2 separate regions of the Homo sapiens genome follow, and region 2 is linked to region 1. Evidence: promoter capture Hi-C in 16 types of primary human blood cells and fetal thymus (Javierre and others, 2016). All regions are on one chromosome and are shown on one strand. The core of a region is centred on a gene start or on the middle of the fragment in contact, and the rest is flanking DNA. Distances in the headings are between cores, read along the strand shown. Region 1 holds the start of EDRF1-AS1 (EDRF1 antisense RNA 1). Region 2 has its middle 42 kb from the start of CLRN3.

The links. Contacts are between HindIII fragments. The CHiCAGO score rates a contact against its expected background, and 5 or more counts as called.
Region 2: a fragment that was not itself captured here is called in contact with the fragment with the promoter of EDRF1-AS1 in region 1 in 1 of 17 cell types (neutrophils); the score reaches 6.6 in neutrophils.

The regions. Positions count from the first base shown.
Region 1 is chr10:125,747,955-125,753,572 of GRCh38, forward strand. It overlaps EDRF1-AS1 (EDRF1 antisense RNA 1), which reads right to left and starts at 4,106. Exons shown (of 5, transcript NR_120633.1): 1 at 4,031-4,106; 2 at 2,486-2,527; 3 at 1,421-1,574. It overlaps EDRF1 (erythroid differentiation regulatory factor 1), which reads left to right. Exons shown (of 25, transcript NM_001202438.2): 21 at 1-58; 22 at 1,458-1,611; 23 at 4,845-4,960. The HindIII fragment of the contact is 4,478 bases long and covers 936-5,413 here.
Region 2 is chr10:127,848,269-127,853,889 of GRCh38, forward strand. No RefSeq gene overlaps it. Among named protein-coding and RNA genes, the nearest start is that of CLRN3, 42 kb to the right of the region's middle. The HindIII fragment of the contact is 5,917 bases long and covers 1,395-5,621 here.

The sequences.
Region 1 (5,618 bases), core at 2,856-5,355:
AGCTGCAACCATCCATCACAGGCTGGCCTCCATGTACCACAGCTGTCTGAGGAATCAGGTATTGTCAGTCCAAGTTAAGTACAGTGCCACATCAGTTTAAAAGTGTTCTGGGTGCTTTTTGTTTTTTTAACATGGTCATATATGTCTTCCTTGACGTCCACTCAGGTGAACTGCTGTCCTAAATTTTCTGCTGCGTCTGTGCCTTTTTTTGTGCTGTGCCACTTAAACAATATGTCCGCATTGTGCTCCATGTTGAGCATGGGAAAACGAATCCGCTGTTGGTGTTCTGTGGCTTACTGCCTGTCACTTAACATCGTGTTTTTGAGATACATCTGTGTTGGCACACGTAGCTGTTCATTTTCTCAGCTCAGTAGTCATTAAATGACTATATCTTAGTTTATCTAGTCTATGATTAGTGAATTTTGGGGTTATTCCAGATTCCAGTTTGATGCTATTAGAAATAATCTAGTGCCAGCAGGATTGTACATGAATCCTGGTGCCCAAATGCCTGTATTTCTGAGAATAATCTGAGGCCGAGGATAAAGGCACTTCCTTCCGAGAGATTGCTTGGCTTTTGCTGCGAGTCTTGGGCCTGTAGTTTCTCAGTGATGTTTTTTTGTTTGTTTTGTTGATTTTCCCCCCCCGTAAGGTAAGACTACTTACCTTACAGTCCCTTTGGCATGAGTTTACTTCTGGGTTGCCTTTATTCTGAAAAGTATCTTTTGAGATACAGCTTAAACTGGAGAAGTTCTTTTTCTTTTTTTTTGAGACAGGGTCTCACTCTGTTGCCCAGACTGGAGTGCAGTAGCACGATCTCAGCTTACTGCAACCTCCGCCTCCCAGGCCTCCCCACTCTTTTGCATATAGATATCTAGTTGTCCCAGCACCATTTGCTGAAAAGACTACTCCTCTGCTGCATTGTCTTGGCACCCTTAAGCTTGCTTTTGCCCTCAGGATATTAGGCCATCTGGGCAAACCTGAATTTTGGTTGAGGACTTCCTAAGTCGAAGTGGAAAGAAATCTTCTCCAGTTCATGCCTGTAATCCCAGCACTTTGGGAGCCGAGGTGGTTGGATCATTTGAGGTCGGGAGTTAGAGAGCAGCCTAGCCAACATGACAAAACCCCAGAAAAAAATTAAAAAATTAGCCAAGCAGTAGTGGCGGGTGCCTGTAATCCCAGCAACTTGGGAGGCTGAGGCAGGGGAATTGCTTGAGTTCAGGAGGCGGAGGTTGCAGTGAGCCAGGATTGCACCACTGCATCTCCAGCCTGGGCGACAGAGCGAGACCCTGTCTCAAAAAAAAAAAAAGAAAGGAAATGGATTAAAGACCTAAATATAAAAGCTAAAACTAATAAGACCTAGTAAGACCCACAGTGGGGGAAAAATAACTAAGAAGCACTTAGTGAAGCCTGAAGTAGTTACCGTGAAGGATTTGTTGCTTGTTTTGGTTTGGTTCTAGGTTGGTGATGAACACCTTAGGAAACAACACCGGGTGCTGGCAGATCTTCATTACAGCAAGGCCGCAAAGCTGTTTCAGCTGCTGAAAGATGCTCCCTGCGAACTGCTTAGAGTACAGCTAGAGAGAGTAGCATTTGCTGAATTTCAGATGACCAGTAAGTCTTAATTTTCATTTCTCAGATATGTATGCATTGGCTTAGTGCTGGATTGTCTTAGAGTAAGGCAGGCCTGTGAATCTAAATAATACTATTTTCTTTTTAATTTGCCCCATAGTTAATGACTTCGGGTAGAGAGGGTGAGAAATCACTACATGTTTTGAAGTGCTTTTTAAAACTTAGAGGAATGTATTAGATTATGTTCAGTGACTAGAAATACTGAGATATGGCCCATGACCCCTAGTTTGGAAAAAAAATTGACAAATAAATTTAGACAGTTAAAGAATTCAATCGGCCAGGCACAGTGGCTCACGCCTGTAATCCCAGCAATTTGGGAGGCTGAGGCAGGCAGATCACCTGAGGTCAGGAGTTCTAGAACAACCTGGCCAACATAGTGAAACCCCGTCTCTACTAAAAATACAAAAATTGGCCATGTGTGGTGGTGCAGGCCTGTAGTCCCAGCTACTGAGGAGGTTGAGGTGGGAGAATCACTTGAACCCAGGAGGCGAAGGTTGCAGTGAGCCAAGATCGTGCCACTGCACACCAGCCTGGGTGATAGAGCAAGACTGTGTCTCAAAAAACAAAAACAAACAAAAAAAAAGATTTAAATCGGCATGAAAAATTTGGGAATGGAGAGGCAACAGTAAAGGAGTAGTGGACCTTATTGAACCCCTTAAACATAGAACTGACCCTTGGATTGTGGTTCCAGAACAGACACTACTGTAGAGCCTGACCGAGGTCAAGATAAGTCGGGAGATAGAGAAGGGTGAAAGTGAGAATGCTTTCTTATGTTATTTTCCATGGCATGGAGTAAGCAGATACTTCAACCACTTAATGATTTTTCCTAAGTTCTCCCCCTCTCTCTCTTGCTCACCTATTCTCCTCTCCCGCAGAGGAGTCTTTTGAGAAATATCTCCTGTGTGGTAAAGAAACAAGAAACAATTATTTGAAGTGCAGCAGTTCATTTAGTTTTTCAGTCTGCTGTAAAATAAGGTTAATACTTTAAATCTGTATGACTTAGTTTACATAATACAGTAGCCCCTGAAGGATGCATAAGAAACTGGTAACATTGTTCCCTTTGGGGAGGAAACCTGGAAGGCCAAGAGGAGGGGTTTTGCTGCATACCCATTTGGACCTTGTAAATTTGGGAATGTATTACCTATCTAAAACAGTTTCTAAAAATGGTTTTTACTAAAACTAATTTTTTGCTGGCATATAACGCATGGCTAGATGTGTGGGACAGTCACCAGAATTAACAGTAGCTCTTTATGTGAGGAAGGTTTGGGGAGAGTGATCTTCAGTTTTCACTTGCACCTTTGAATATTCTGCCATGTTTGAATTCCTTAGAATGATCAAGCATCTTTTTTGTTGTTGGGGTTTTGTTTTTTGTTTTGTTTTGTTTTGTTTGAGACAGAGTTTTACCCTGTCACATGGGCTGGAGTGCAGTGGCATGGTCATGGCTCACTGCAACCTTGACCATCTGGGCTCTAGTGATCCTCAGCCTCCCCGAGTAGCTGAGATCACAAGTGCTAATTTTGGAAAAATTGTTTGTAGAGACAGGGTCTCACTATGTTATAAGCCCAGGCTGGACTCAAACTCTTGAGCTCAAGCGATACTCCTGCCTCGGCCTCCCAAAGTGCTGGAAGATACTGGAACAAATTTGCTAAGATGATAAGTGTGTTTAATTCTCTCCTTTAAATGTTTTACTACTGTGAGTACTTTAGAAAATAATGTAAATATTTTAGAGGGTTTTGTTAGCCAGGTTTGTGGGTTTTGTAAGCCAAGTTAATAAATGCTCTAGTTTGTGACACCTTTTATTCTATCTTATTTTACCCAGTGTTTTTTTTTTTGTTTTTTTTTTCTAGTACATATGATTCAGACCTCCCTTCCTAATGTCTATATTGTCTGGTCGTTGTCCCAACAACACTTTCATACATAAGCAATAGCTTGTCTTCCAGATGCCAAATCTATGCTGAAATCACATTGATCCATTGATTTTAAAGAGAATAGGTTGTTTAGAAAGTGTGGGATTATACTTCTAAAGGAAGAAGGCAACAGTTATTCTCTCCCCACCCGCAGAGTCGGGGAGTCCCCAAGACCATTGTCACTTCTCACACTAACTACGAGTCTGTCGGCGGTCTCCAAGACCACCCTCAGGTTTGAGAATTTGCTAAAGGACTCACAGAACTCACTGAAAGCTGTTCTGCTTACAGCCACAATTTCTTAACAATGAAAGGATGTACATTAAAATCAGCCAAGGGAAGAGGCTCGGGAGGCAGAGTCCTGGAGAGTTCTAAGCGCGGAGCTCCCAGTTCCTCTGCTGCTGGAGTTACAGATAGTGCTAACTCACCCCGGCAGTGATGCATGACAGTGCTCACCAAGTGTATCAATCAATACATGTACAACTGCGGAAGCTCACCCAAGCCTTGGTGTCCAGAGTTTTCATTGGAACTTGGTCAGATAGACATGGTTGACTGCCACGTGGCTGATCTTTGTCTCCAGTGCCTCCAGAGGTCAAGCTGTTACCCTGGGGCCCAAAGTCCCCACAGTAAATCCCATTGTTAGGCTATCCATTGTGACCCAAGGACCCCCAGGTAAACAAAGGCGTTCTTACCGGGCAGGACATTTCAAGGACTTAGTGGTTACCTTCTGGGAGCCAAGGACAAAGACTAAACCTCTGTACAAGATTTAATCCTCTACTGCACACCGCACACAATTGAGTTCTAGGAGAACAGGAGCAAAGGTGTCCTGTAGTATCTGATAGCTCTAGAAAAATTGTAGTTAGAAGGCTCTAGAATAAAACAAAACCTTGTTCATCTGGTCTGACTTCCTGCCTTTGAACAGAGATGTAATAAACTATTTTACAGATAGGACAACTGATACTAAGTGCTTATGTGACTTGACCACACAACTGGTAAAATGTGAGGTGGGCCTCGAGCCCCAGACTCTTTTCTGCTGGTCCCTTTTCCTAAGGCTCCTGTTCTGAAAAAGTGGCCTGTCTTGACAAAACCAAATGGTGGGGCAGGGAAACAATGATTATTTATTGCTTTGTCCAGACTTAGTATTTTTGTCAAGGGAATATTATTAAATAGAAGTTGGATTTAGAAGATTTAAGATTCTCATTAGCTTCCTTTATAGCATTTTGAAAGTCTGAATTTTCATTAATACATTAACATTAGATGGGTTTCTAGATTTATATTAAAGAAATGAACGTTTTGTATTTAAAACTTTAGGTCAGAATAGCAATGTTGGAAAGTTGAAAACACTATCTGGGGCTCTTGATATAATGGTGAGAACTGAGCACGCATTCCAGCTTATCCAGAAGGAGCTTATAGAAGAATTTGGCCAGGTACATGGAGAAAATGACTGTCTTTGGTTTTTGTGTGTCTTAAGCTACATGGTGAATGTATATAGTGGACGTGTGTGTGTATGTGTGTGGGTATATATACACACATGTACATATGTATGCTATGCACTAAAACATTTTAACAGTGATTTGTTATATTTGCCTGGTATTCATCTCCTTTCTTTAATTTGCAAGTATTTTAAAATATTTTTAAGAATATATCTCAACAAGACCATAGTTAACAAATTATAAAGTCTCTTAAGTTTTTTTGTTGCTGTTGGTGGGAATTTGTTTTGTTTTATGTTTTAAAAGAAAAGGCCTGTGCCCTCTTTTCTAATTTCCACTAGAATGCCTGGGAGCAGTTGAATGGTGAATGGGCCTAAGCAGGCTCCTCAGGAAGGAATTTCTCGTTTTCTGGGCATTCCGGCATTCATTTTACCTTCTGCTGTTGCTAAAAGCTTCCTGAAGCCCCCATGTTGCGCCCACCTATTGCTCTTCTAGCCCTGCTTGGTCAAATCCTGTGTGGTACCGTACATTTCTGCGTTGTGTCTAATGTTGGAAAGTCAGGATTAATTTCTTCTACAAAAGTGCCTATTGGGGCTGAGACATTTTAATTATGTGTTTTAGTCTATCAAAATGATCATAGGTGTGCTTTTTGTTT
Region 2 (5,621 bases), core at 3,103-5,602, 2.1 Mb after region 1:
ACAGAGAGAGAGAGGGAGGGAGGGAGGGAGGGAGGAAGGAAGTGGGGGGGGAGAGAGAGAGAGAGAGAGAAAGTGAGCAGCACCTGCGCACTTAGGCTTGCAATTGTAGGGCATGGAGGACTCCAGGCCATGGAGTGACAGTGCTGCAGGGTGGGGCCCGCAAGGGTGTGCTGGGTGCCTGGGTCCACGGAGGAGTCTCCCCTGGAGATGAGACTTCAGCTGCATCTAGACGCACGTGGCCTCCATGACAAGGCTCCTCAAGAGAACTTCCTGAGGCTGGGCCTTCACAGTGTGCTTGAGAAACACCCTCGCTCCTGTTGATCCCAGCTCTCTGGGGCCCTCCTCTGTGAATGACATCCTCACAGAGGGGACTCTGTGCTCTGGCACCTCCTGCACTCAGGGACCCCTTCCCTGGCACCACCCTCACGGCTGCTCCCCTTGGCCAGCCTCCTCCGCCACCATAACGCAGACCAGGAGGGGAGCAAGCGATCCCTCATCCTTCCTTCAATCAGCAGGGTCTTGTGGTGGGCTCTGGAGCCACCTTAAAAGCAGTCCCCTGGGCCGGGCGCGGTGGCTCACGCCTGTAATCCCAGCACTTTGGGAGGCCAAGGTGGGCGGATCACGAGGTCAGGAGATCGAGACCATCCTGGCTAACATGGTGAAACCCCGTCTCTACTAAAAATACAAAAAATTAGCCGGGCGCGGTGGCGGGCGCCTGTAGTCCCAGCTACTCGGGAGTCTGAGGCAGGAGAATGGCGTGAACCCGGGAGGCGGAGCTTGCAGGGAGCCGAGATCGCGCCACCGCACTCCAGCCTGGGCGACAGAGAGAGACTCAGTCTCAAAAAAAAAAAATTATAATAATAAATAAATAAAAAATAAAAAAAGCAGTCCCCTGTTACCTGGGGAATGGACCGGGGCTTATAGATGCCAAAGAACTCTCCAGGGTCCACAGCCAGCGCACCAGCAATCTGCTCTCACCCACCACTCGCTTGCTCAACAGACATTTGTGGCTGCCAATGGGCCGGGGGCTGTTTGGGGGTATATTCAGCTCTGGGCCTGCCCTCAGGGCACTTAGATTTTAGAGAAAGAGGGTGCGGACAGAGACTGGACAAACCAAAACATAAAGTGCCTGGCATACATTGAAAAGGGGGCCATGGGATAGAGAGCAGCTGGGGAGGCACGGACAAGGGGCATGAGGAGGGTCCCTGGCAGGCAAGGAGGAAGGCCCTGGGGGAGACCGAGGGGGGAGCAAAGTCCCTGAAGGGACAAGCCCTCGCGCCCCTTCCCAGGGCCAGCACAGGGACCTTCAGGTTACACCCTATGCAGAAGATGGTGAAAAATACATCAACTCTTCCCATTCCCATTCCCATTCCCACGGGCAACTTGACAGTACAAGCTTCTGCCATGCCACAATATTGGCTCCTTTCTGGTAGTTGGTACGGAATTAACCCCCTTGTGTTAATTCAGATAGATCAAAAATGCACATTTAACAAAATGAAGGACACCAAAAAAAAAAAAAAAAGAATCTGCCTTCTTTCTTAGAGTTCTGTTTGAAAGAACGATCATCTTACTGAGAGAATCTGAGAGCTGGAAATGTATGGAAAATCTCTATTGAAAAAGGACTGAAATGGAACCTGTGAGGAATAATTGTTCAAGAAGAAATGTGAGCTTTTCCCTCCGGCCATGGATGTTTCTGAATTGGCCCTGCAAAAAGGCCATCCGTCAGAGCCGGCTAGGTGAAATGAATCCTTCCCAAGCTGCGGTAATCCCATCAAAGGGGAAGAAGGTGGGAAGGAACGAGGCGAATCCTTCCCCTTAGAGGTTAGGGAAGGAAGTCCTTTGCTCAGAATACAAACAAGTTTCCAGTGTAAGAAGGATTAAGCACGACTCTATTAACCTAATGCCTGCGCTGAGCACCAGCAGCTGCCCCACTCAGTACCAGAAAGCCTGGCAAAGCCTTTGGGAATATTTTGTTTGGGGAGATTTCCAGCTTCATGAGATTCTTCCTGATTGCTTTCTTTTAAAAAATGAATTAATTACAAAATGAGAAGTGCATGTAGTCTTGACTCCATCCACCCTCCAGAGGGGCCGAATGGAGGTTCCCCCTGGAGCCCGTGACAATCAATATCTAATCAAAACTCGTTATAAGAATAAATTAGCAAGCAACTCCTAAGCGCTTCCTGTTAGCTGGTGGTGGTTGTTCTTTTCTTTAAAGTTCAATAAAACAATTAACTTTTACATCTCAATCTAAAAGCCCCACTGCCAGGGAGCTTGTTTTTCAAAGGCGATGAACTGAGTGGGAACTCACTAGATGGAGAGAGAAATGAATCCCTCCCACCAGGGCAAAGCTGACAGCCAGAGGCAGGGCTGCTGCCGCCTTGCAAGACACACCTGGGCCTGCGCGCAGATGGCTTCGTTGGCCTGCGAATGCTTCAGATGAGGCAGACCTAAGGTCCCATTTTGGATACTGTTCATAAGGACACAGAAGAAAGAAGTTTGTATAAATGTCACTCTCTGAGACAGGTGAAGAGAACATTCAAAACCCAGGACAAGCACCAGACCAGGCGTTCAGCTCATGCGTTGTTTTTCAAGTTAATTACAAATGTGGTCCATAAACCCCCACTGCTGACTTGGGGGCCACTTCCTTTCCTTTTCTGGCCACAAGACAACAGTGGGACTTGGCTAGGAGGAGGGACCAGCCTCCCCTGGGTGGGAGGTCACTTGTCTCAGGGTGGGGGGCCCATAGTGAAAGACCAAGAGGGACAGCCAGGGCCTCCAGAGCGGCCACCCCAGGCAGCACCCCATGGGCTGCGACTAGCAGTGAAGCTCGGGTCCAACCGTGGAGAAGGAGGGAGAGGCAGGGTGCCAGGAAGGCCACCTGGGCAAAGTGCTGGGCGGCTCGGGCCAGAGGAGGCCAAGGCAGAGGGATGGGTCTGGGCCCGAGAGGTCAGGTGAGGTGGAGCTGGCACTGCCTGGGGAGAGGCTGTGACTGGGAGGCCCCTGGAGCCTTGTGCAGGAGCAGCGTCTGCGGGAAGGGCAGCTGAAAGCAGGAGCACATCGGGTGCCACCCAGTGGGGTGGAACAGCAGAGAAGAAGGCAGGTGCCCCAGGCAACTCCTTGATGTGTTTGCCTTGAGGAGGGGCCCAGAGGATGCTTCATGGGGACAAGAGGTGCCAGTAGAGGGGAGAGGCTGTGGTTTTAGGGAAGAGGACAAGAGGAGGGAGGTCAGAGAGATTGGGGTTGGCCTGGAGTTCTAGGGACCGCTCGTCTTTTCAAGACTTTTCTGACTAGACCTTCTGGAGAACTTTTTATAATTTCCACTTAGAGTTTTTCCAGAGGAGGAACAAGAGGCTTTGATGGGGACATCCAAGAACTGGTGTGACCTGGGGGATGGCGCTGTGCCTGGCAGAAGCTGTGCCCCAGGGGAAGGAGGCAGGCCCTAGTCCCCAGACTCCCCTCTTCTGCAGCTAGAAGGAGGATGGCAGGGCCAGGCAGGACACAGAGAAGAGCCAGCAGGGCCCATCCCCTCTAGGTGAGCGGGATCTCCGGGCCCCCAGGAAATGGGAGCATCCAAAGCAGCATTGACCACAAGGGGCAGGGAGGAGAGGCTGGAAAGGAGGTCTGTGCATAACGCCTCCGATTCCTGGTAGAACCTCACAACAGCTCGTTGACGGCGGGTCGGTGAGCATTTAAAGAGCAGCAGATTCTCATTCAGAGGCAGTGTGGTTCCATGGAAAGCAAAGCATTTCAGTGATGCGTGCTTAATTCAATCAGCTTACTTTACGCAAAAAGGATCCAGTGCCAGGAGTCCCCGGCCTGTCATGAAGGGTGGGGACAACGGTGTCCAAGAGCCACAAATAAAATGCCAAGGGAATGCTGTGACGGGGGCCCTGGAGGGCTTTGTGGAGGAGGTTGAAAGATTCTCAGAGCCTTCAACAATGCTCTGTGGAAGAATTTGGGAGGTTACATTGAAATGGTAGGTGGGCGAGGCTGGGGGAAAAAGGGAAGATTTCCAACACTTTGGATCTACAAGGACACAACAGGTTTTGTTTTTTTAAATGGCTGTGGCTAAAATCAGCTTCCTGGTAGCATCATAAATGGGGATGGAAACCCTCATAAGCCTGGTGTCAGTGGTGGTGGCACCTTGGTGAGCAGGTGACCAAATGGCCTGAGTGGTGACGTTAATCTACCTGTTCACTGGCTGTTGCCAAAGCGAGGCCTATTGGGACAGGTTTGCATTTCTTCTTGGCTTCTAAGACCAGGTTATGACAGACATCCTACAATGCAGGAGGAGCTGGACAGGAGGACAACATCACACCTGGCCCTGCCATCCTCCATCTCCAGAAGCCATGGTCCAGCAGGGAGATGCACGACTCATGGTCTTCCACGCTGAGTGGAAAAGCCATGGCAACGCGGGCACTGCCAGGGGTTTCAGGGTGCTCTGCATCTGTTTCTTAAATAAGACTGTCTTGTTAATCCTGAACATTCCAGCTGCTTTTGTCACAGTGTCCCCGGACAAGAGGGAGCCTGAGAGAGACTTAGAGATCAGGAGAAGCAAACCGGCCCACAAGTGTGATGGATGCTGTGTCAGAGTGTCTAGGATCCAGGAGCCCCGCTCTCCCCTTAGAGACGGATGCAGTTCCGTGCACACAGGCCCTCTTTCCTGTGTAGGGGAGGGGCATGCTGTCTGCACATGGCATGCTCCCTCCTGCCCAGGGAAGCCAACTGCCATATTAGCAAAGATGGTTTGAAAATGAACAAGAATCCCAACTTAAAATATATATATATATGCAGTCATTCCTTGGTATCCGAGGGGGATTGGTTCCAAGACCCCCATGGTAACAAAATCTGCAGATGCTCAAGTCCCTGATATAAAATAGTGTCGTATTTGCATAGAACTTACACAATCCTCTTGTGTACTTTAAATCATCTCTAGATTACTTATATATATCTAATACAATGCAAATGCCAAGTAAATGGTTGTTATACTGTCTTTTTAGAATTGGTATTATTTTTCATTGTTGTATTGTGATTTTTATTGTTTTTTAAAGTATTTTTTATCCTGGCAGGGTGCAGTGGCTTACGCCTATAATCCCAGCATTTTGGGAGGCTGGGTCACTAGACCCTAGGAGTTGGAGACTAGCCTGGGAGACAAAGTAAGACCCCATCTCTACAAAAAAAAAAAAAAAACGCTGGATGTGGGGTCGGGCACCAGTGACCTCAGCTACACGGGAGGCTGAGTCAGGAGGATTGCATGACCCAGAGGTCTAGGATGCAGTAAGCCGTGATCACACCACTGCACTCCAGCCTGGGTGACAGAACAAAACCCGTCAAAAAAAACAAAAAACAAAAAAAAACAAAGAAACATAAAACTGTTTTTTAATCCGAAGTTGGCTGAATCCATGGAACCCACAGGTGTGTAGAAGGACATCTCCCACAATGTTAAGTCATCACTTACCAGTGTCAGCTTCCTGATGTGGCTAAGTTTAGACACACACGCGGGCTCGCACGAAAGATCCTAATGTCGAATAAATTGGGGGGAAAAATCAGTTCAGCTAGATGGACAGATTCCTGGAAGTCTTAGTGTGCACACATGTGCTGTGCCTGTGCAGGAGGGCAGT